Linked DNA regions of Homo sapiens: all the other regions are linked to region 3. Evidence: promoter capture Hi-C in 16 types of primary human blood cells and fetal thymus (Javierre and others, 2016). All regions are on one chromosome and are shown on one strand. The core of a region is centred on a gene start or on the middle of the fragment in contact, and the rest is flanking DNA. Distances in the headings are between cores, read along the strand shown.

Region 1 (6,114 bases), core at 1,751-4,250, 110 kb after region 3:
TTTGCCCCTCCAGACCACACAAAAAAACTTCAAAGTCCTATAAATAACACATACAGAGGATTTCACCAAGATGCTTAACTTTTTTTGAGACAGGGTCTTGCTCTGTCACCCAGGCTGGAGTGCAGTGGTGTGATCATAGCTCACTGAAGCCTTGAACTCCTGGGCTCAAGCAATCCTCCCACCTCAGCCTCCCAAAGTGCTGGCATTACAGATGGGGAGCTACTCTTTCCAGCCAGCTTAACATGTTTTATACCTCAGTTGTGCAGAGCATGTTTGATGAGAGGGGTTTCTCATCATGTCTAGCTGGACACAGCGGCATTTTTCTTGCTTCCAGGTTGCTTGCTGCCTTGGCTGGCATTAGGTCAAGTAAGGTTTTGAAGGGATTAACTTATAACCTAATAATCAGCAAATGTGTTATTTTGGTGGTCAGTATTTTGTATAATTTCCTTACCAGAGCTCTGTTATCATCTTTCTGGTAAATGTCAAATATGCTCCTTTACAGGCAAGTAAGACGTTAAATCTACAAACATAGAAGGACTTTAATTTCCAGAAATGAGGAAAATATTTCTCATCATTCAAAAATTATGTACTTTATTGTAAGCATGTACTCATAGGGAATGATTTTTTTTTTTTTTTTTTTGGAGACAGGGTCTTGCTCTTTTGCCCAGGCTGGAGTGCAGTGGCGTGATCATAGCTCACTGCAGTCTTAACCTCCTGGGCTCAAGCGATCTTCCTGCCTCTGTCTCCTGAGTAGCTGGAACCACATGTGTGTGGCACCCCACCCAGCTAATTTTTAAAAAACTATGTCTCTTTCTGTTGCCTAGGCTGGAAAGAATAGTTTTTTAGTAGGACTTGAACTTCTCATTTCTTAAGAGTTGTATGTCAGCTATTTTCAGTCTACAATATTTAATCAACACCAATAAATTTACTAGCACAAAGTATGTGCTGGGTGCTACAGGACATATAGGATAAAACAGGCCAGATGTTAATAAGATTATAGTAATAACATCTCTGATCAGACTTGTGAATCCTCTGGTTTCTTTACTAACTCTAGGGGGTTGTGGTCAGAGATAAGATGAACTATCAGTATCTGCAGCTGTGTTTGATCCTCCCTCCAGAGTTCCGGTTCGTTCCTCAGGACACAGGACAGATAAAGGTTAGGGAAAACATAACATGTCTGGAGTTACAAGGAGAATCCGTAGGGAAATAAAAGGCCCTAAAATATTTTTCTACTTGGTCCAAAGTAACAGCCATGTGTGCCAAGTCCCACGCCAATGAAGAAGGTCAAATTTTAAATACCTGTTTTAGTAAGACATGACTTGAGAATCCTTTATCCCCTGCATTGCTTTTCCGTGAAGTTACAGTCCCTTGTTAAAGGTGGCAAAAGCCAGATGCCTGACTCAAAGGGAGGATGTACTTACGGTTTCCCCAGGCAGAGAGGATGCGGAAGACAAGGATGGTTCTCTTCTAGCAAGAGTAAGGAGAGTGGAAGGGGCCTTAGCTTCTGTCATCAGAACTCCAGCTAACAGCAAGGCTGACAGACCTGGGTGAAGATGTGTGCCACCTTTCCTGATCTCTGGCTCATGCCTGTGATAACGCAGCCCCTCGAGTGGAGGCCAAACCACTGTACTCCTGGGTGTTCATTTCCTCACATCTTCGCTCACCCCTTAGTCCTTGAGTTAGTCTAGCCATGAGCGGCCAGTTTGAAGACCCATCACTTTTCTGTTTTAGGCTAAAGCAAACACGCAGTGCTCTTGAGTTCTAAAACAGATTTTATGCATCAGTTTGGTCTCAGTTGTGCAGGATAAGGAAGTAAAGCTGATCAGATCCTAGTCTTGTTTAAGGCTGAATCATCTATAAACCTCTAATTTGGGCAGGGTTATAAACACATTTGTGGTGGTGGGCTGGTTACAATGTAGTTCCAGAGAACCACTGCCTTGTAATATGGAGATACGGTCACTGTGCCAGTAGTTTTATTTCCATAAATGTTTCTTCTTTCTTTTTTTTTTGGTCATGATTACTCTGTCTGGGAAGTATATTCTAAGATAATCAGGAAATCACTACATATCACTTTTATTTTATATAAACTGCTTTTCTCACCCATCTTTCAAAGCGTAGGTCACCTCTGTCTCTGAAACTTTTTCTGATAATTTCTGATGAAAGCAATGTCTTCTACCAAACTTGGTAATATTTTACTGTAAAGCTTTTCATTATCGTTACTGGAATGTATTCTGTTTCTCAGTAGGTTATAACATCCTTATGGGCAGAAATCATATATTAATCTTTTTTAAAAAAGTTTAACCAGCCTGGGCAACATAGTGAGACTCCATCTCTTAAAAAAAATTATCTGGATGCAGTGGGGTTTACCTGTAGTCCCAGCAACTTGGGAAGCTGAGGTAGGAGGATCGCTTGAGCCTGGGGGGTGGAGGCTGCAGTGAGCAGCGATCATGACGCTGCACTCCAGCCTTGGAAACACAGCGAGACCCTGTCTCTTAAAAAATAAATAAATTTAACTTTTTAAAATGAAATAATTTCAGACCTCACTAACAGCTAGGATAGTACAGGGAGCTCTCATGTTTTCTTCAGTCATCAATTGTTAGTATTTTCACACATTTGCTTTCTTTTATTGATATATAATAGTTGTACATATTTGTGGGTATTATGATTTTTGATACATGAATATAAGATGTTATCAAATCAGGGTATTTGAGTTACCTGTCTCCTTAAACATTTATCTTTTCTTTGTGTTGGAAATAGTCCAATTCTTTTCTCGCTATTTTGAAATATACAATAAATATTATTAGCTGTAGTCTCCCTACCATACTGTTGAATACTCGAAGTGACTCGTTGTTTACGTGTATGTTTGTACCCTTTAGCCCACTTTTCTTCATCTTCTACTTTTGCTTTATTTCTGTCTTCTCTTCATGCTGACCTCTCTGAGTAAACTAGCATGTACTTTTTAAGATCAAAGACTTTCCCTTAGTCATATTACAATTACAAAATTCAGGAAAATTAGCATTGATGAAACTTTATTGTCAGATATACAGTCAATATTCAGTTTTTGTCACCTGTCCCGATATTGTTTCTCATTGCAGTTTTCTCCCTCATCTAGTATCTAGTTTGAGATTATGCATCGACTTTAATGGCCACATCTCCTTAATCTCCTTTCATCTGTAATAATTCCTTGTTTTTCCCTGGCATCTCATGACATGGACACTTTTGGAGAGTCCAGGCCAGTTTTGCAAAACATCCCTTAATTTGGGTTTTTCGGATATTTCCTCGTATCTTTAGAGTTGGCTTGTGCATTTATGGTAGTAGCATTGCATAATGATGTTTTCTTTTTTTCTGCATATCACATTAGAGGGCCAGTGACGACAGTCTTTATCATTCTTGGAGACGCTGACTTGGTTTATCATGGTTCAGATGGTGTCTGCCAGGTTTCTCCTTGTAATGAATAAGCGATCTGTGCAGGGAGACTTTGATACTTTTACCATCCATTGATGTTCCTTGCCTGAATCAGTTATTAGTTGGGTGGTTGAAAAGTGGTGATTTTCCTAACTCAGTGATCCCCTCTACATTTAGTAGTTGACATTTTACTACAGTGCCTTCCATCTTTTAAAAATCAGTAGCCTGGTCACATAAGGAACATCACAGCATGTAAGATGCAGCACCAGCCACTTAATATGTAAGGATTGCCTTATTCAGTCTGCAAGCCAAACCTCGAAAGTAAGTATTAAGCTCCCACAGCCTGAAAGTGAATGGCATGGCAGTGTGCATTGACTGGTGACCTGGAACATTAAGCTTAGATCCTGTACATCTTACAACACATTTGTTACATTAGTTTAAAACATTTTACAGTCTTACTCAAAAAATGACTAAAAGGAGAACTTCAGTAACATTATAACTTAAAATGGGAGTTAACTTTTCCTGCCCAGAAGTTGTGCTAGACTGATAGTTGACAGTAGGTCTCCCCATGATCTGTCACAGGTGGGAAGGGATGCACTAGCAGATGAGGGTGTGTTTCAGTATTGTTCTTATAACCCCAAATATGCTTTCGTTTCCTTTATAGCTAATTAAACTACCATTGAGAGTTTATTAAAACTTTTCTTGTTATACATTGATGTTCTCAGCATAATGCATTCTTTGTTTATTATTCTTATTAGGAGTCTGTGATGATAACAGAAAACCCAGCTCAATCTGGCTTAAACAGAAGTAATAGTAAAAGCAAACACATATGTATCATGTGCTGTGTGCCAGCCACTGTTGAAGGCACTCATTTTCCATTCACGGTAACTCATTTAATCTTCCTTACACCATCCTGTTATTATTTGTATTTCATAAGTGGAGATAGTGACAGTGGTTAAATAGCTTGCCCAAGGCCACACAGCTAGTAAATTTTGGAGCATTTACTGGTTTAAAAAACTTGAAATATCTGGGAATTAGGGCTGACCCCAGTGGCAACTTGATCCAGGGCCTACAGTAAAATCAGTGCCCCGTCTTTTAGCTTGCCTTCTCTGTTGTCTTTTTTTTTTTTTTTTTTTTTTTGAGATGGAGCACTCACTGTGTTGCCCAGGCTAGAGTGCAGGGGCGATCTCAGCTCACTGCAGCCTCTGCCTCCTGGGTTCAAGTGATTCTCCTGCCTTAGGCTCCTGAGTAGCTAGATTACAGGCGTGCATTACCATGCCTGGGTAATTTTTATATTTTTAGTAGACACAGGGTTTCACCATGTTGGCCAGGCTGGTCTCGAACTCCTGGCCTCAAGTGATCCACCCACCTTGGCCTCCCAAAGTGCTGGGATTATAGGTGTGAGCTGCCATGCCCGGCCTGTTTTCTTTATTCTCAAGCTTCACCCCTACCCTGCCCGCTGTAAGCTCAGACTTACACCCTTTTTTGTGTATGTGTGTCCAGCAGAAAGAGCAGGCTTCTCATCCTAATAGGTCATCTTTGCTATGGAACTGTTCCTGACCTGATCACTGCAGTGACAAGACTTGGGTGGCTAGGGTACAAGCACCTGGAACCACAAGGACTAAGAATTGGAGAGGATGATTCTCCAAGGGAAATATGGAATGAGTAAGTAGGGTGCTGAACCACCCCAAAAAAGTCCTGTCTAACTACCTTTGTACAAAGTAGTGCTTTCTTTCTCTTTTTTTTTATTTTTTATTTTTTAAAATTTATTTATTTATTATTTTTTTGAGACGGAGTCTCGCCCTGTCGCCCAGGCTGGAATGCAGTGGTGCGACCTCGGCTCACTGCAACCTCCACCTCCCAGGTTCAAGCGATTCTCCTGCCCCAGCCTCCCAAGTAGCTGGGATTACAGGTGCGCGCCACCACGCCCAGCTAATTTTTGTATTTTTAGTGGAGACAGGGTTTCACTATGTTGGTCAGGCTGGTCTCGAAGTCTTGACCTCGTGATCCGCCCGCCTCGGCCTCCCAAAGCGCTGGGATTACAGGCGTGAGCCACCACACCTGGCCGATTTTGTTGTCTTTTTCTAGAAGTTTTTTCTTTGCAGACCACCTCCAAAAGTATCCTTTCGTGATGGCCCCTCCATCTGAGTGATGGCTTTAGGTGGTGTTGGATGGTTAGATTTCTTTTTTTAGATCTTAGGACTCCCAGAACTTTACTAACTGTTCCATATAGAGAACAACCATGGATTCTGTACAAGAATAAGAGGTTTTTTTCCCTAAACTTTTTATTGAGGCATAAAATGCATACAGAAAAATGTACAACTTGATGAATTTTCACAAAGATCATATCCCTGTAACTATAGCCACACACAGAAATGGAAGATTACTGGCAACCCAGAAGCCCCCCTCGTGTCCCACACAGCTTTAGAGTTCCTCACATGCTCAGAGGGGAGGCCAGCAGAGTGCCCTCTGCTTCCAACCCCTTCCTCTTGCTTGGACCTTGGCATCTGTATCTCAGGTGTTCTCCCTCTGGCCCTAAGAGTTCACTCCAAGTTCTGCTGCTTTCTTTGCCTCTTCAAAGGGCCACCTTTTTCTCAGCCTCTTGTCCCGGACCTAGGTCAGCATATTTCCCCAGGAAGGAAGCAGCTGCAGATGTCAGTGCCCTATGCCCACACCTACCTTTCCCTTGGCACTCACTGTCTTCTCAAT
Region 2 (6,284 bases), core at 943-3,442, 72 kb before region 3:
GAAAGGACCAGACTTCAACGGGGAGTGTGGATGGGCCGACCTGGCTGGGACTCGTGAATCTGGAGAAGAGCTGGAGAATGGATAGTATTGTCTGTATTTGGAGACTTTAATTTCTGTGTGAGACCAAAGGAGGAGAGATGTGTTTTGTTCAAAATTTAAATTTGTTGTGGTACACTATCTTATGTAACCTGTCTGGTGAGTTTGTTTGGACAACCTAACTCAGCTTTATTTGACATGGAACCTAAAATAGAAGATAAGATCTTGATATTCTGTACAAGTTGATGTAATACCCTGATGCGTTTTAGAGGACTTGGCATAAAATGAAAGATTGGCAAAGGCCCTTGAGGGGCTTGGGGATGACAGTATGGAACTGTCTGCATTGGACCCTAAACTGGACTAGAAGAGGCATCTTCAAGGTTCATACGTTGTCCAGCTGTAAGTTCATTTGAGTAGCAGACCTAACAAATATTTGAGGTCAGAACCCTACCATGTTAAAACAAACAAAAACTTACCATGTTAATAAAAGTATTCATTTGCTTGAAAAGACGAAAGACCTAAAAGGTTATTGAGAAATGTTAGTCCTTTAAGAATGAAATCTGCTGTCTCCCAGATGGTTCTCACTGTCAAATGGAGGGTGAACATCTTAACGGTTTCTGAGGCTCTTAGTCTCTAATCAAAGGGAAGCTTTCTCTCTCTGCTGTTGGGAACCGGGTGAGGAAGAAACACACTTGGTTCTTAGTGTGGGAAGAAACCACATGTAATCCTGTGGTCCAGGCCTCTGCCTTCAGAGAGCCAAAGCACCTTCAGTCTTTCCAATTGGAACATTGTTTTCTAGGCCTTGCACTGGGAATATAGCGATTACAGTTGCAGGGTGAGGGATGACATAGAGGAGATGTGATACCCCACCCTCCTTCCAGATTGAAGCCTTTCTGCCTCAGCTGCTAGAAGTGTTGCTGACAAACACCCTTCAGCTGGTTAGCCCTCTGGGCAGTGCCTTTTCAGAGGAGAGCTGCGTTAGCCAAAGTCATGCCCTTTTCCCTGGGTAGCCTACATCTAGTGAGTAATGGGCTGGAAATCTCAGGTCGCTATTTCTCTTACCCCAATTTGGGACAACTTTGAGGGACATGGTGGCTTCTGAGCTTGTGGGGTCTGCTGAGGCTTTTGTTAGGATTACATCACGCAGCCCACCTCCTCCCCCGTCCCAGCCTTGCATTCCTCCTCTTCCACAAGTGTTAATCCCTAAAAAACGTGCATCTAGTTTTCATCTTGGAGTCCACTTTCTGGGCAACCTAGTTGGTAGAAATCAAACAAAGCCATGTGTCCCTAGCACTAATAAAGATAGAATGTCCCAGGAGAACACTTGAGGGGGAGGTCTAGGAAAGCTTTCCAGAGCAAGTAACTCTTTCAGAGCTTGGCCTTGAAAGAGGAGCACAGCTTCCGAGGTCAGGAAGAGCAGGAGAGGCATGCTAGGCACAGGAAACAATGGAAGATGTTCAAGGTTTTCTGTGTGAGTTCCACACAGAGGAGGGAGAAGAAATGTATAGGACAGAATTATGAACTGGGAAACAACCACGAAAACTACATTTCGTACATTTGCCAAAACAAGAAATGTAACATTGGTACAACACTACCAACTAGACTTTTCTCTGCTTTCACCAGTTTCCCCACTAAGGCCCTTTTTCTGTTCTGGGATACTACATTGCATCGGGAAGTCGATTGTTTTCAATGAGTAAGATTTATAAATGACACGAAAGTGATCCTTCATCTCTCCCCAGCTTCCCAGTTCCCCTCTCAGGAAACTAGAAGTTTCTTATACATCCTTACAAATACTAATGTGTTTGAACGGCTTCCACTTTTTTTTGTTTTTGGTGAGACAGGGTCTCTGTGTCTCACAGGCTGGAATGCAGTGTTGTGACCACTCACTGCAGCCTTGACTTCCTGGTGTCAGGTGATCCTCCCACCTCAGCCTCCCTGGTAGCTGGGACCAGGCATACACCACCATTTCTGGCTAATTTTTGTATTTTTTTTTTTTTTTTTTTGTGGAGGTGGGGTTTCGCTATTTGTCCAGGCTGGTCTTGAACTCTTGGGCTCAAGTGATCACCTTAGCCTCCTGAGTAACTGGAACACCACCGCGGTTAATTTTTGTATTTTTTGTAGACAGTTGTTTGCCATCTTGGCCATTTTGGTCTCAAATTCCTGAGCTCAAGCCATCCACCCACCTTGGCCTCCCAAAGTGCTAGCAATACAGGCATGAGCCACTGCGCCCAGGCCACCTGTTTGTTTTGTTTTGTTTTTTACATTAATGGTAGCACACTGTATAATCTGTTCGTGTCCTTCATTTGTTTACTTGGAAGTCTTTTCCTATCTAACATCTAAATCTGCATTCTTTTTTTTTTTAAGGCTGCATAGTGTTCATTCTTATGCCAGAGTTTGAAAACTATTGTCCTAAAATCTTTCCAGTAACTCCTTAGTTCCTCTTTTTTATGATTCTGGTCACAACTGCAATGCAGCCACTAATTCCCAATTGCCCCAGCTCCTGAATTTCATACTCCTGGCTTGCTAGCAATTGGAGGAGCAATCCAATCTTGCATTTTCTAAGCAAAGAATGTGGTAAGAAGCATTCTGAGAGACAGTCTTACGTGGCTGTACAGTCATTAAATTTTCTGGCTGGAGTTGCCATATTTATTTATTTGTTTATTTATTTATTGAGACAGGGTCTAACTCTGTTGCCCAGGCTGGAGTGTAGTGGCATGATCTTGGCTCACTGCAACTTCTGCCTCCCAGGGCTCAAGCAATTCTCCTGCCTCAGCCTCCCGCGTAGCTGGGGTTACATGTGGGTGCCACCATGCCCTGCTAATTTTGGCATTTTTAGTAGAGACAGGGTTTCACTATGTTGGCCAGGCTGGTCTTGAATTCCTGGCCTCAAGTGATCCACCTGCCTTGGCCTCCCAAAGTCCTGGTATTACAGGATGGCAGAGCTGGAAATAACCTCAGAGAGCAATGAAGCTTTTCTGGGTTAAAATGTAGAAGTCATTAGTGCTGTTCACCAAATAAATTCCAATTCTCTGCCTTCTAGGCACAGAGTAAGATGGCACTTTCTGGCCCCCTTGGGGTTGGGTGGGCCCACGTGATTAATTCTGGCCGATGAGCTACAAAGGAAACTTACATCTGTTGCATCCAACCCAGAACCTCCAAAGCAACACCCTGCAGAGCTGTCTCTTCCCTCTGGCACAGGAACCAGCAACATTCCAGATGGTGGCTGAGCTTAATGACCACAGTTCCCTACCAATCTATGATGAGTATATACCACAAACAAGGAAAAACCTTAGTTGTTTTAAGCCACTGAGATTTGGGGATTGTTTGTTACAATAACAACTTAGACTAAGATGACTGATACAGATATTCATTATTTCTTCCATTCCTTGTGTTTTGATGAAAGGGTTGTTCTCCCTTCTACCTGAGGCCCGTTGATCACATCCCTCCCACTAGCCCAGGCATTGTCCAACAGGTTATCTTCTGTCTCTGGCTTTCACGTGGAGCTCTTGACTTTCCTCTGCCTTCTAATGACTTCAAGGTGAAAGAAAGCGCTAGTTCAAACTCCTACTCCTGGCCATTCTCCCCCTTCCAGGCAGCAGGTAAACATGGAGTGGCTTGAGTTTCTACCATCTTCCAGAGATAAATGGGGATTTATTACCCTGGTTAACACTGTGGCCAGGTAAATCTACAAAATCCATCCAGTGCCTGCTTCAGTCACTGCCTGATATGGTTTGGCTGTGTCCCCACCCAAATCTCATCTTGTCCTGGGAGTGACCCGGTGGGAGGTCACTGAATCATGGGGTGGTTACCCCCATACTGTTCTTGTGATAGTGAGTTTCCACGAGATCTGATGGTTTTACAAGGGGCTTTTTCCCCTTTGCTCTGCACTTCTCCTTCCTGCCGCCATACGAAGAAGGACAGGTTTGCTTCCCCTTCTGCCATGATTGTAAGTTTCCTGAGGCCTCCCCAGCCATGTGGAACTGGGAGTCAATTAAACCTCTTTCCTTTATAAATTATCAGTCTCGGGTATTTCTTCATAGCAGCATGAGAACAGACTAATACACAGCCCAGCATATGTTAGACCCTCTCTGAGTCAATTCTCTTTTCCCCGTCTCTGATTTCCATAATGTTCTGTGGTACCTATTTACTGGTTTATATCCCCATTGCTTCCTCCTTCAAACTCTATACCATGGTTCACAAAATCCTGCATTCCATTATTCCCAAATTAATCCATATTATTCTTTGCCTCTTCAAAGAACATTTCTTTACCAACTCTTAACAGCTGAAACTAGATTTTCCCCAAGCCCTGGGCTTCCCTGTAGCCTTGTTGGTGATGGTTCCTTACAGCACTTGCCCACTGCCTGGGGCAGATACTGCGTTCATCAGGACTGCATTTTTGCCAGAGAGGAGTGAAAAAAGAAAAAAAGAGCTTAGGGTTTTGACAAGGACATCACTGCAACAATACATGATGTACTCTGAGTGGGGAAGTATGGAGGTGAAGAGCAGGAGAGCAATAGGCGAAAGTAGCTGGTAAAGTGAATGGAGATCCCAGCATGTTAGTGACTACAGTGAAAGTGTCACCTGGAGGATGGGATGTGGCCAGAAAATAGGAGGGCTGATATTGGAAAGCAATTTATCATATTAAAAACTCTGATTGTCAAATAAAATGTATCTGTGGATGACATCCTGCGAGCTACGTGCTTCTGGGGCCTCAGATCAATTCTTGTTTTAACACCTGTGAAGCATTTACTATGTGCCAGTTACCTACAATTCCTCAAAAGCCTTTCACGACCCCTCAGTGGGGCAGATGCCATTATTAAAATTAGTCTCGTCTTATCAATGAGGCACAGAGATATTAAGTAGGCCAGGTCTGAGACAATAACAAGCCCCAAGTCACTCTTGGGAGTGAATGGCCAAGCAGGGTGGAGGAGCTCCTTGGATATGAGGGCCCAGGTGTGGGGCTGGTGGCTGTGTGAGCATGGAATTCGCTCAGGACGATGGCAGGGCTTGGGGTGGAGGGGAAGGCCAGGAGCCAGGTGCCCAAGTTTGCAGTGAATGACGGGACTCCAATGGGGTGAAAAGAGATTGGAGGATGACAGAGGTGAGAAGAGGGAGAGGACAGTCAGATGACCAGGGAGTGCTCCCAAGGAGCACCATTTTGGACAAGAGGGAGGAGAAGTAGAGTGTGGACATGGCCTGGGAGAACACTGCCCCCAAATTCTGATTGACACACGAGGGACATATAGAAATGAGTGGCTTTTCCCTCACAGGCCTGAGGATGAAATAGCACTATTCTCAGGGGTAAGGTCGGGGGAGGGCAGAGCTCCTCCAAGAAGTCAGGCACATGCTGGAGGCCCAGGAACAGGTTTGGGGGTGAAGAGGAGTGGAGAACATCACTGGAAACTTGTCCTAGGCTGAGTTCTCCTTGGTTCATCAATGGGAGAAACAGCAGTGACAGGCTAGTAAGTTTAGTCCTGAATTTAGTCTCTTTGAGGGAGGACAGGCATGGCCTTGGTGTGATCGCTATGGAGGCAAAGATGTGGCAGTTGGAGACTGTCACTCAACTGTGCTTCCTGCAGTAGCTTCTATGAATGAGCTTGGAGAGGCACCACTGCTGGTCATTTGGGGCCTCACAGGAAAGGGGTTCTGCATCCCAAACCCAAAGAGTTACGGGAGATGGCTCCAAAAGAAGCCATCTTACAGGGAAATGAGACTGAGGCCCCAAACCTTTCTCAAGCATCTTCAGTAAAGGTCCTTCCTCAGAAAGTGAGTGCCAGTCACGTGGGCAAACACCAGCTGATGACTGTCACCTTCCTGTCAAGGACACTGGCTCCACAGGGACACCACTGGGAAAGCAGGGGAAGGACAGAGCGCAGTGAGGAAAATGCCGGCATCTTCACAAGATTTGGGCTGTGGCTGCCTGCACATTGGGGCTGGCTGACAGCAAACAGGCAGGAAGCATCTGAGCGGGTCTTGTTTGTGGTGTTTTTTTTGTTTGTTTTTTTTTTTTGAGATGGAGTCTCGCATTGTCGCCCAGGCTGGAGTGCAGTGGCATGATCTCGGCTCACTGCAAGCTCTGCCTCCCGGGTTCACACCGTTCTCCTGCCTCAGCCTCCCGAGTAGCTGGGACTACAGGCAGCCGCCACCACGCCCGGCTAATTTTTTGTAATTTTAGTAGAGAAGGGGTTTCACCATGTTAGCCAAGATGGTCTTGATCTCCTGACCTCGTGATCCGCCTGCCTCGGCCT
Region 3 (6,497 bases), core at 3,617-6,116:
TTAGTCTACTCTGGACACCATAACAAAATACTATAGACTGGTTGGCTTAAAAACAGACATTTATCTTCTCACAGTTCTGGAGGCCAGAAGTCCACGATTAAGGTGTCAGCAAATTTGGTTTCTGGAGGTGAGGGCTCTCTTCCTCAATTGCAGATGACCACCTTCCTGCTGCAGTCCTCACATGATCTCTTCTTTGTGCATGCAGTGTTGGGGGGTACAGGAAAGAGTGCTCTCTTGTGTCTCTTCTTATAAGAACATGAAGCTATAGGATCATGCCCCCACTTTTATGACCTTATTTAACCTTACTTACTGCTTTACTCCAAGTACAGCCACACTGGGGGTTAGGGCTTCAACATAAAAAAATATTGGGGGACACATATATTCAGCACATAATAATGGGAATGTAAGTTGTTACAATAATTTTGGAAAACTATTTGGCAGTATCAACCAAGATTAAACATATACCAATCCTATGTTCTAGCAAACTGACACCTTGTTATACACTCAAGAGAGTTTGAGTGCAATTGTTTATAAAAATACATATACGAGAATATTCACAGCAACTTTATTATAATAGCCCCAAAGTTAACCCAAATGTTCATCAGCAGGAGAATAAATAAATAAAATGAATAAATAGTAGCATATTCCTTCAGTGGTTTATTATTGCATAACCAGTTAACCCAAAATTTGGCAGCTTTAAAACATTTATTATCTGTCATAGTGCATTTAGGCTGCTCTAACAAAATGCCATAAGGTGGGCAGCTTACAAAAGAAATTTATTTCTCACAGTTCTGGGGGATGGGAAGTCCAAGATCAAAGTGCTAGTAGATTCTGTCTGGTGAGGGCTAGTATTTTGGTTCATAAACCGTTCCTTCTTGCTGTGTCCTCACAGGATGGAAGGAGCAAGGGGTCTCTCTTATGCATCCTTTTTTTTTTTTCTTTTGGAGATTGAGTTTCACTCTTGTCGCCCAGGCTGGAGTGCAGTGACACAATCTCTGCTCACTGAAACCTCTGCCTCCCGGGTTCAAGCGATTCTCCTGCCTCAGCCTCCTGAGTAGCTGGGATTACAGGTGCCTGTCATCACGCCTGGCTAATTTTTGTATTATTAGTAGAGATGGGGTTTCACTATGTTGGCCAAGCTGGTCTTGAACTCCTGACCTCAGGTGATCTACCCGCCACAGCCTCCCAAAGTGCTGGGATTACAGGCATGAGCCACCGTGCCCGGCCCTCTTATACATCTTTTGTGTATTTACTTGTAGACAAAGTCTTGCTCTTTTGCACAGGCTAAAGTGCAGTGGAATGAGCATAGCTCACTGTTTCAAACTCCTGAGCTCAAGTGATCCTCCAGCCTCCACCTCCTGAGTAGCTGGGGCTACAGGCACATGGCACCACACCCAGCTTTAAAAAAAATTTTTTTTAGAGACGGGGGTCTTGCTATGTTGCCCAGGCTGGTCTCAAACTCTTAGCCTCAAACAATTCTCCTGCCTCTTCCTCCCAAAGTGTTGGGATTACAGGCATGAGCCACTGCAGCTGGCCTTATATCCTTTATAAGGGTACTAGTCACATTCATGAGGGCTCTGACCCCATGACCAGATCACTTCCCAAAGGCCCCATCTCCTGATATCATCACTGTGTTAGGCTGTTCTCACATTGCTATAAAGGAATATCTGAGACCGGGTAATTTGTGAAGAAAAAAGGCTTAATTGGCTAAGGGTTCTGCAGGCTCTACAGGAAGCAGGGTGCTGGCATCTGCTTGGTTTGTGGGGAGGCCTCAGGAAACTTACAATCATGGCGGAAAGCAAAAGGAGAGCAGGCATGTCACATGACCAAAGCAGGAGCAAGAGGTGACAGGAGGTGCCACACACTTTAAATGACTAGATCTCACGAGAACTCACTCATCACAGGAACAGCACAAACGGGATGGCGCTAAACCATTCATGAGAAATCTGTCCCCATGACCCAGTCACCTCCCACCAGGCTCCAGCTCCAACACTGGAGATTACATTTCAACATGAGATTTGGGCAGGACATCCAAACCCTATCAATCACCTTCTGGGGTAGAATTTAAATATATGAATTTGGATGTGAGGACACAAATATTCAGACCATAGCATTATCTTATGTCATTTCAGTTTAGTATCTTACATGAGGTTGCAGTCAACCTATCAGCTGGGGCTGCAGTCATTTCTGAGTTTGAATGAGGATGGAGCATCCCCTTCCAGGATGACTTACTCATGTAGTTGTTGGAAAGAGGCTGTTTTTCCCTAGCTGTTGGTCTCAGTTCTTTGCTATATGGGCTTCTCCATGGAGCTGCTCACAACAAGGCAGCTGGTTTCCCCAGAGCAAGTGGTTTGTGAACCCCCAATATCTGAGACAGGTCTCAGTTCATTTAGAAAGTTTATTTTGCCGAGGTTGAGGATGTGTGCCCGTGACACAGCCTCAGGAGGTCCTGATGACATGTGTCCAAGGTGGTCAGAGCACAGCTTGGTTTTATACATTTTAGGGAGACATGAGACATCGATCAACATATCTAAGATGAACGATGGATTGGTCCGGAAAGGTGAGACAACTCAAAGCAAAGGCAGGACAACTTGAAGCGGGGAGGGGGCTTCCAGGTCTTGGGTAGATGAGAGAAAAATGGTTGCATTCTATTGAGTTTCTTTTTTTCTTTCTTTCTTTTAAAATTTTATTTATTTATTTATTTATTTATTTTGAGATGGAGTCTCACCCTGTCGCCCAGGCTGGAGAGCAGTGGCGTGATCTCGGCTCACTGCAACCTGCGCCTCCCAGGTCCAAGCAATTCTTCTGCCTCAGTCTCCCAAGTAGCTGGGATTACAGGTGTGTACGACCACAACCGGCTAATTTTTGTATTTTTAAAAGAGGGTTTCACCATGTTGGCCAGGCTGGTCTTGTACTCGTGATCTCAAATGATCCACCCACCTCAGCCTCCCAAAGTGCTGGGATTACAGGCGTAAGCCACCGCGCCCAGACATTTTGAGTCTCTGATTAGCCTCTCCAAAGGTGGCAATCAGATACGCATTTATCTCAGTGAGCGGAGAAGTGACTGTGAATAGAATGTGAGGCAGGTTTGCCCTAAGCAGTTTCCAACTTGACTTTTCTTTTAGCTTAGTAATTGTAGGACCCCAAGATTTATCTTCCTTTCGCAGGTTGGAAGGAAAGAGATGCCACACTACCTTTCATGAACTAATGTCCAAATCATACATCATCACTTCTGTGTTTTTCAGTTTATTATGAGCAAATGAAGTCACTAAGTCCAGTACATACTCGACAAGAGGGAATACACAAGAGTGAGAATACCAGGAGTAAGAAATCACTGGGAGTCATCTTGAAGGCTGGCTAGCAATCACAGTTTGCCCCCTGACTACCAATTCTTCATGCCATTTTAACGTGCTAACCACACTCCCCTCTATCCAAGGTCCCCAAAAGTTACATTTTTTTAAATCTCATGTAGTTTTAGGTATTACTATCCTATTGTCACATCAGCTTTAAGTCCAGAATTTTGTCTTCTCAATAAGATCAGATGTAGATGAGGCTTTCTGAGCTTAGTTCCTTAAATTCAGCTCCTAGAGTACAATTCTTCTTGATCTGTAGACTTTTGAAACTAAGGAGACAAGTTCTCTGCCCCCATGCCTGGAATATACAGTTGTGGGGCTGGCACAGGATAATCACTACAGACCTGTTCTGCTCCACTACGACTAGATTAGCCACTGCCACTCCTGTTCAAAAAGGGGGAAATTGGAAGTACAAACAAGTTGCCAGCCCACAGTAACTCTGCCATCCAGTCTCAAGGTCTAGGACTCCATGACTCCCAGTTCCACCATCTGGGCTCCTGGTTTCATGCCCTGAGTTATACTTCCTTTTTTGTGAAATGTGGCATGTGTTTGCCAATGAGTCTTTTTCTCAGTCTGATTCCTGCTTGTACAAGTTTGGGGAGAGGGGATCCAAAGGCCTGTTCCTTTCAGTCCAATCTGCAATGTTTGTGTCAATATAATTATCTTTAAAAAACTTTATAGGTCTCCTGTGAATCTCATCGGGGTTCACTCCGTTAAACAAAAGTGCTACCTACAAATCCCTTTGAGATAAGTCCATCTCTATCTTGGGCTTCTGCTAATACTGACGAACAAGCCTTAAGCCTTCTGGAGGCCTTGTGGTTTGACTGATGGACTCTGTGAGCCACACCATTAATCTCTTTAAGGAGCTGTTAGTCTAACTGAATGGTATTCTCAGGCACCGTCTTTGCTTTTTTTTTTGAGATTTTAAAGGATTTAACCGTCACATCTCAACTTCACCTTTGTTTTTTTCTGGCAGTACCCTGGATTTGATATTTGCTTGGAAACTATTACTATTTCTTAGTTTTACGCCATTTGCAATCAGGCGAAGCTGAGGACTTTAAAAATCATCCAAAGTCGTCAAGGTCCATCCCTTTTGTGTTTCGTCTTGCTTATCTCATTTATTTTACTATAAACAGCAAAAAGAAATGAAGGACAGGAGGGAGACGTTCATGGGTGCTGGACATGTCCTACCTGTTGGTCTGGATAGAAGATGCATGGTTGTATGGATGTGTACAAAGTCATCAATGTGCACACTTAAAATGTATGCACTGTATTGTATTCCTGCTATACCTTCGCTTAAAAAAGAAAAAAAAGGTTGAATGTGAGTTCGGGCGTGAGAAAACAGCAGCGCGCATGCGTGAGCGTGAGCGCGCATGCGTGAGCGTGAGCGCGCTGGGAGGCCGGAAACAAAGGTGGATGCGCGTGAACAGACGCCCTCGCAGGCCGCCGGAAGCAAAGGCGTGAGCGCGCGTGCGTGCGTGTGCGGGTGCGTGAGCGTGAGCGCGCGGAGGCCGGAAGCGAGCGCTGCGCAGTCGGGTGGTCGCGGGCCATGGAGGGTAGCTTTTCGGATGGCGGAGCGCTGCCGGAGGGGCTCGCGGAAGAGGCCGAGCCGCAGGGCGCCGCCTGGAGCGGGGACAGTGGCACTGTTTCCCAGAGCCACAGCAGCGCCTCGGGGCCGTGGGAGGACGAGGGCGCGGAGGACGGCGCGCCGGGCCGCGACCTGCCGCTGCTTCGCCGCGCCGCTGCGGGCTACGCCGCCTGCCTGCTGCCCGGGGCCGGGGCGCGGCCCGAGGTCGAGGCCCTGGACGCGAGCCTAGAGGACCTGCTTACCAGAGTGGACGAGTTCGTGGGCATGCTGGACATGCTTCGCGGCGACTCGTCCCACGTCGTCAGCGAGGGCGTGCCGCGCATCCACGCGAAGGCCGCCGAGATGCGGCGCATCTACAGCAGGATCGACCGGCTGGAGGCCTTCGTGAGGATGGTGGGGGGCCGCGTGGCCAGGATGGAGGAGCAGGTCACCAAGGCCGAGGCCGAGCTGGGCACCTTCCCCAGGGCGTTCAAGAAGCTCCTGCACACGATGAACGTGCCCTCGCTCTTTAGCAAGTCTGCTCCCTCGAGGCCACAGCAAGCCGGCTACGAAGCCCCCGTCCTGTTTCGGACCGAAGACTACTTCCCTTGTTGCAGTGAAAGGCCTCAGCTCTGACGGCCTGACCACTGCGGCAAGAGGACCCCAGCTGGGGTGCTTACCTCCAGTATGAAGTGAATTGCAAATCCTGCTTATGGACATATATGATGTTGGAGTGTGGGATTTTAAAGTTTACTTTCTACAAACTCTCCGTAGTATATTCATGATTCAGTGTAGAATGTATAGACTTTATGTCTTCCAAGTTTAAAAAAAGAGACAGGGTCTTGGTATGTTGCCCAGACTGTTCGGAAACTCCTGGGCTCAAGTGATCCTTCCACCTCAGCCTCCCCAGTAGCTGGGACTACGGGGTCGCCACTGCACCCAGCCTGTGTCTTCCAGCTCTAATCAGAAAGCTGCTTGTCGAGGGCATGGGGAATCAAACTGAATGAACTTTTCTCTGCACTGTGGCAAAACTGTTATTTTTATGGATTTTACTAAATGGCGTTACCTTTTCAAGATTTATATGTTTGTATAATCATAAGAAAATTGAGCCATTAAAGCCTTGTTATTCAATCCTAATAGTCAGTTTTCTAGAACCTACTTTTAGGGTAAATGGTACATTATTTAATATTATATTAAACCTCCTATAGCGTGGATTGTAGACCAAAGGAAATGGTACAATTTCTGAGAATATATGTTGATTTTTTGTGACTAATTCCAAAGTTGTATTTGAAAGTATGACCTCACAGTCTTCATTTGTCCATAGCAAACATATGTGTGTGTGTGTGTATATATATATGTGGGTTGCCAATGTTTGGTTTATAATTTAAATGTTAATAGAAATTTTGAGTTTTATTGGAAATGATTTCCTTCTGAAAAGAGCTTTACGTATTTCCTTGTGTGTGTTTGAAATAGACGTACTGCTCATGTGCTTTTTTAGTAGTGGGATAAAGAAAAGGGGCTTGAGTATACCTCCTTTAGAGAGCTAATGTGAAAAGCTGTAGCTTCTATTTCAGAGC
Region 4 (6,053 bases), core at 3,528-6,027, 98 kb before region 3:
AGCAGAGAGACCAGTAGATGACAAAACAGGGGTGGAACTGGCATCCCAGATCTTGAGTAGAAAACAGGGTTCTGGCCGGACATGGTGGCTCACACTTGTAATCCCAGCACTTCGGGAGGGCAAGACGGGAGGATCTCTTAAGCCCAGGAGTTTAAGACTAGCCTGTGAGACCCTGTCTCTACAAAAAAATTTTTAAAAATTGGCCAGGGTGGTGGCCCATAGTCCCAGCTACTTGGGAGGCTGAGGTGGGAGGATAGTTTGAGCTCAGGAGTTTGAGACTGCAGTGAGCTGTGATTGCACCACTGCACTCTGGCCTGAGTGACACAGCAAGTCCCTATCTACAAGGAAGGAAGGAAGGAAGGGAGGGAGGGGAATGGAATGGAAGGGAGGGGAGGGGAGGGGAGGGAAAAGAAGAGAGGGATGGAAGGAAGGAAAGAAGGGAGGAAGGAAGGAGGGAAGGAAGGAAGGAAGTGAGGGAGGGAGGGGAAGGGAAGGGAACGGAAGGGAGGGGACGGGAGGGAAAAGAAAAGAAGAGAGGGAGGGAAGGAAGGAAAGAAGGAAGAAAGGAAGAGGGAGGAGGAAGGAAGGAAGGAAGGAAAAAAGAGGGAGGGAGGAAGAAGGAAGGAAAAAAACGAAGGAAGAAAGGAGAGAGAGAGGAGAGGGCTGTGCCTGAACTTGCCTTGTTATCTTGAATAAGCTTTGTGCCCTCTGAGCTCTTTCCTCGTCTCTACTTTGAGATGGTTAGGCTGAGGAGAGTCAGGGTCCTCCCAGCTCTTAAGCTCTATGGTCTGAGCAAAGGCAGGGAAGTGGAGGCCTGGGGCATTGGGAGCACAAACACTTTGGGCTGGTGCGGGGTAGGCTACCCACAAGGATGCATGGGAAGTGGCTGGCAGGGGCAGGGGCATGTAATGTGCAGAGCTCTGAGTGCCAGGAGGAGGAGTTGAGCCCCAAACCCTCTCCTCACTCTGTCCATCTGCCTTGCAGGGACTGCGCCGAAGCTCCCAGGACCCCAGCAGCAAGAGGCCGTGACGCTGCCCCCGAATCTTCACCTGCAGATCCTGAGCATCCCTGGCTGGCGCTACAGCTCCAACCACACGGAGCACTCTCAGAATCTCCGGAAAGGTGAGGCAGGTGCCCTGGCGTCTCAGACCTGCTCCTCCCTCCCTGAGTCAAACAGGCCACCGGGCCCACCACCAGACAGGGGCTCACCTTAGAGCTATCATGGCTCTGCAAGGTCACCTGGTTTCTTATCTGGCACATGGGGAGAGTGAGGCCCAGGGAGAGTCAGTGATCAGTCACTTGGCAAGCTGGAGGCGAGGTGGGCCTGGCCCCCAGCCCTGTGACCCCAGCGCATTCTGAATGGATCCCTCTCAGCCTGCCACCCCCAGCTGAGACTAAGGAACTAGTTAAAGTCCCCCTGACCCCCAGGTTGCCTGCCAGTCCTACTTCTTCCAGGGAAACCTCCTGGAGCCCCCAAACACCCAAATTCCCACTCATCCTCCAAGTTCAGGCAGCCTAACTCTTGGGAGTTTCCACTCACTCATTCAACAGCACGTCTCGTGCCAGGCTCCGGGGAATGAGCAATGACCAAGGTGGGCAAGGTCCTGGCTTTCTGAGCGCTTGGTCTAGAGCAGAAGCAATCAAGTCACCAGGCAGTAATGACAAGGACAAGAGGAATCCCCCTGCACAGCATGATGGGGGGCTCCCCGAGGAGGCGACACCTGCTGGGAACTGACTTGTCCTGTTGCCAGAGCCCCAGCTGCACCTCCTCTGCCCCCTCTACACCGTGAGCAGTGGAAAGGCAGGGTCAGACTGTGCCTCAGCCATCCTCAGGTCCCCAAGGCCTGGCACACCTGCAGAATTAAGAATACGAGGAAAAGGGTGGGGCGCAGTGGCTCACACCTGGAATCCCAGCACTTAGGGGATCCGAGGCAGGCGGATTGCTTGAGCCCAGGAGTTCAAGACCAGCCTGGGCAGCATAGGAAGATCCTGTGTCTATAAAAATAAAAATAGAAAAGTTCTCTGGTCATGGTGGCGTGTGCCTGAGCCTGCTTTCCCAGGCACCTGCAGCCGCCTTGTGAAATGGGATCCCTCACCATTCCTGCTGTGTGGGACACAGGAGGCCTTCCCTGACTTTGGAGCTGGAACTCCTCACCACCACACCAGGAGATGTAGAAGCACTTTCACAAACCTCTTGGCTTTTGTGATCTTGGGCAGTCATTCCCCTGTGCCATTCTGAAAACCAGCTACCCCATAGCCCCATGATAGCTTCTTAAAAATGGGCCAGGCAAGGTGGCTCACATCTGTAATGCCAGCACTTTGGGAGGCCGAGGTAGCAGGATCACTTCAGGCCAGGAGTTCGAGACCAGCCTGGGCAACATAGCTAGACTCTGTCTCTACAAAAAAAAATTAAAAAATTAGGCGGGTGTGGTGATGCTTGCCTGTGGTCCCAGCTACTCAGGAGGCTGAGGTGAAAGGATCACTTGAGGCCAGGAGTTCAAGGCTGCAGTGAGCTGTAATCATGCTACAGCACTCCAGCCTGGGCAACAGAGCAAGACCCTGTCTCTAAAAAAATTTTTTTTTTCTTTGAGACAGAGTCTCAATCTGTTGCCCAGGCTGGAGTGCAGTGGTGTGATCTTGGCTCACTGCAACCTCCACCACCCAGGTTCAAGCAATTCTCCTACCTCAGCCTCCCGAGTAGCTGGGATTACAGGTGCCCACCACCATGCCCAGCTAATTTTTGTATTTTTAATAGAGACAGGGTTTCACTGTGCTGACCAGGCTGGTCTCAAACTCCTGACAGCAGGCAATCCGCCCTCCTTGGCCTCCCAAAGTGCTGCGATTACAGGTGTGAGCCACCACACCCTGCCAAAATTTTTTTTTTAATACTGATGCCTCAATTCTAATCCCAGACAGATTGATTTAGTCAGCTTTGAGGCATAGCTGCAGAGCTGAGGTTCTACCAGCCAGGGTTTAGGAAGCACCTGTGTTAACCAGGTCCTCTCTCCAGGACCTTGAACTCAGTGCTTTCCTCTGAGCCTCGGTCTTCCCATCTGTAAAACGGGAGCAATGGCAATGAGCCTTTCTGAGTGGGAAGATCAGGGATGGGACAGGAGATCACATACATCATGTGGCAAATGACAGCATTATATCAGTCAGGGTGGCTGGCGTATGCTGCAGTAACAAAGAGCCCCGAATGCCCACGGTCTTAACAGTATATATTCATTTCTCCCCCATGCTGTGCATCCAGTGGGGTTAGCAGGAAGGTTTTTCTTGCTGTGGCCACCACGCCCCCCGCTGATGGAGTTTGTATTGCAGCACGTGCTTCCTCACTCACCATGGCAAGAAAAAGCTTCTGCCGGGAAGTACTGCGTCACTTCAGCTCACTTTGCATTGGCCACAGAGGCCACGCAGCCTCCCCTGACTTCAAAGGGGGCAGGGTAGGAGAGACTGGAGTATTTGAGGACATGCCCCAATATGCCCACAACAGTGGACGAGGATGGAAACATTGCAGCTGGTGTCATGGTGGGCAGCCTTACAGTCGGCCAGACCTGGGTGGGAATCCTCCCTCTGCCGCGCACCAGCTGTATGCCTTGGGCACGTGACTGCCCCTCTCTGAGCCTTGGTTTCCTTGTCGAGTGGGGGCCATGTCAGCTGTCTCACATGGAGTCTATTAGTCTGTTCTCATGCTGCTCATAAAGACATACCCGAGACTGGGTAGTTTATGAAGAAAAAAGGTTTAATGGACTCACAGTTCCACCTGGATAGGGAGGCCTCACAATCATGGCAGAAGGCAAATGAGGAGCAAAGTCACGTCTTACATGGTGGCAGGCAAGAGAGCGTGTGCAGGGGAACTGCCCTTTACAAAATCATCAGGTCTCATGAGACTTATTCACTATCACAAGAACAGCACAGGAAAGACTCACCCCCATGATTCAATTACCTCCCACCAGGTCCCTCCCACAACATGTGGACATTATGGGAGCTACAATTCACGATGAGATTTGGTTGGGGACACAGCCAAACCATATCGAGGAGGTTACAGATAGGAAATGGAGCTGAGTGTGTAAAGCAGCGGGTATAGACCAGGGACATTGGGGTTGGTTGATGAGGGTCTTCACTGCCACCTTCCTTCTGTCCCCAAAGGCCATCGAGGGGAAGCCCAGGCTGACCTCCGCCGTGTCCTGCTGCGGCTCTACCACCTATATGAAGTGGGCGAGGACCCAGTCCTGTCTCAGCCAGTGACAGTGAATCTGGAGGTGAACTTCCCCACCCCCATCCAGACCATAAGCCAGGGAAGCAAACCCTAGATGAAGCCCCAAGAAACTGCCTTGGCAAAGAGATCCACGAGGGCTTCCTCCCAAATGGACGCTGGTATGGGCCCCACCCCGCCCTTCTTCATGGTCTTCTGGGTTTGTCAGGTATTACAACTGGCCTGGTTTTTTAGGGTTTTTTGTGTATATGTGAGACAGGATCTCACTCTGTTGCCCAGTCTGGGGTGCAGTGGCACAATCTCAGCTCACTGCAACCTCTGCCTCCCTGGCTCAAGTGATCCTCCCACCTCAACCTCCCAAGTAACTGGGATCACAGGGGCGCGCCACCACGATGGCTAAGTTTTTTTTTTTTTTTTTGAGACCGAGTTTCGCTCTCGTCCCCCAGGCTGGAGTGCAATGGTGCGCTCTCAGCTGGCTGCAACCTCCATCTCCCAGGTTCAAGTGATTCTCCTGCCTCAGCCTCCCGAGTAGCTGGGATTACAGGCATGTGCCACCACGCCCGGCTAATTTTTTTGTACTTTTAGTAGAGACAGGGTTTCTCCATGTTGGTCAGGCTGGTCACGAACCCCTGACTTCAGGTGATCCACCTGCCTCGGCCTCGCAAAGTGCTGGGATTACAGGCGTGAGCCACCAAGCCTGGCCTAGTTTTTTTATTTTTAGTAGAGACACGGTCTTGCTGTGTTGCTCAGGCTGGTCTCGAACGTCTGGCCTCAAGCAATCTGCCTGTCTTAGCCTCCTGAAGTGCTGGGATTACAGGCGTGAGTGGCCTGTATTTTCTTTCTTATTTATTCTGTGGTAAAACTTTTAAAACACAGACAACATCTGTGTAATCCAAAAACAAAACAGATTCCCCATAGAGTTGCTTTGAAAGGTGACTTAGAGTCAGACAATCCAGGGTCCACACCCAGGCCCCTCTACGGGGGCATCTCCGGCACCCCATGCCTCTGGGCCTCAGTTTCCCCCCATGTAAAATGGGGAGAGGTGAGAGTTCTTTGCCCAGAAGGTTGCTGAGAGGCCCTGGCACTAAGGGGCCTCGTGCAGTGTCAGGGCCCCCAGGCCTCGTCCCCTTCCAGGTTCCCCTCTTGGCTGATGTTGCCCTCTCAGCTCTACTATCAGGCGAGGCTTCCGCCACCTGGCCTGCCCACGCTCCCTCCCCAGAAGGCATGACCTGAGCCGCCTCATTTCTTTCCCAGTTTGCATTCTTTCTATTTCATTTCCTGCTCATGGAGAATTTCTGTGAATCTCTGTGTTTCTGCCTTGGGCCTCCTTCGACATCTGAGTCTTCAGGGGAATCCAGAGAAGCCCCAGTACCTTTTCGCCATGATGTCTTACTGGGCCACCCACCTCCTCTTTCATGATCCTCGCCACGGAGGATCCTTTCCTCACGGTCCCTGGCCTGCCTGAGAGCAGGTCTAGGCCATGGCGGGTACCAGTGCCCAGCACAGGGCCAGCCTGCCCTGGGAAGCAAGGAGGCCAGCGTGGGACCTGGAAGTTGGTCATCTGATGCTCCCCCGTTTCACAGATGGAAGCACCAAGGCCCTGAGACAAGGAGACGGTTGGGATGGACACCATGACTCCCTGCCCAACGTGGACGGTGGTGGGGTGGAAAGACCATTGAGTTAGGAACGCAGTGAGTTTGGCTGCAAGTCACAAAACACCTAACAGATGTGCTTAGAACAGAGGACAGAGTGTTTTCTCACCGAACAGGCATGTCCGATGGACCCCAAGCGCTGTCACCGTGGGCCCGATCACTGTCATCTTCCCGCCATCGCCGGCAGA

Evidence for each region. The method cuts DNA at HindIII sites, captures the fragments that hold promoters and counts their contacts. A CHiCAGO score of 5 or more calls a contact.
Region 1: a fragment that was not itself captured here is called in contact with the fragment with the promoter of BLOC1S4 in region 3 in 1 of 17 cell types (erythroblasts); the score reaches 5.8 in erythroblasts.
Region 2: a fragment that was not itself captured here is called in contact with the fragment with the promoter of BLOC1S4 in region 3 in 11 of 17 cell types (naive CD8 T cells, non-activated CD4 T cells, fetal thymus and 8 more); the score reaches 13.7 in naive CD8 T cells.
Region 4: a contact is called between a fragment that was not itself captured here and the fragment with the promoter of BLOC1S4 in region 3, in 1 of 17 cell types (neutrophils). The highest score is 5.6, in neutrophils.

What each region holds. Positions count from the first base shown.
Region 1 is chr4:6,825,882-6,831,995 of GRCh38, forward strand. The region is part of intron 3 of KIAA0232; the gene reads left to right. Among named protein-coding and RNA genes, the nearest start is that of KIAA0232, 46 kb to the left of the region's middle. The HindIII fragment of the contact is 1,598 bases long and covers 2,202-3,799 here.
Region 2 is chr4:6,642,186-6,648,469 of GRCh38, forward strand. It overlaps MRFAP1 (Morf4 family associated protein 1), which reads left to right. Exons shown (of 2, transcript NM_033296.3): 2 at 1-544. Among named protein-coding and RNA genes, the nearest start is that of MRFAP1, 4.6 kb to the left of the region's middle. The HindIII fragment of the contact is 1,624 bases long and covers 1,381-3,004 here.
Region 3 is chr4:6,711,308-6,717,804 of GRCh38, forward strand. BLOC1S4 (biogenesis of lysosomal organelles complex 1 subunit 4) reads left to right here and starts at 4,867. Exons shown (of 1, transcript NM_018366.3): 1 at 4,867-6,357. The coding sequence starts at 4,903. The coding sequence ends at 5,556. It overlaps LOC105378240 (a long non-coding RNA gene), which reads left to right. Exons shown (of 3, transcript XR_001741568.3): 2 at 2,504-2,560; 3 at 2,717-2,838. RefSeq lists enhancers at 4,587-4,786, 5,269-5,908 and a silencer at 5,067-5,116. The HindIII fragment of the contact is 17,705 bases long and covers 1-6,497 here.
Region 4 is chr4:6,613,234-6,619,286 of GRCh38, forward strand. MAN2B2 (mannosidase alpha class 2B member 2) reads left to right here. Exons shown (of 19, transcript NM_015274.3): 16 at 985-1,122; 17 at 4,147-4,259. Among named protein-coding and RNA genes, the nearest start is that of MRFAP1, 24 kb to the right of the region's middle. The HindIII fragment of the contact is 2,854 bases long and covers 3,351-6,053 here.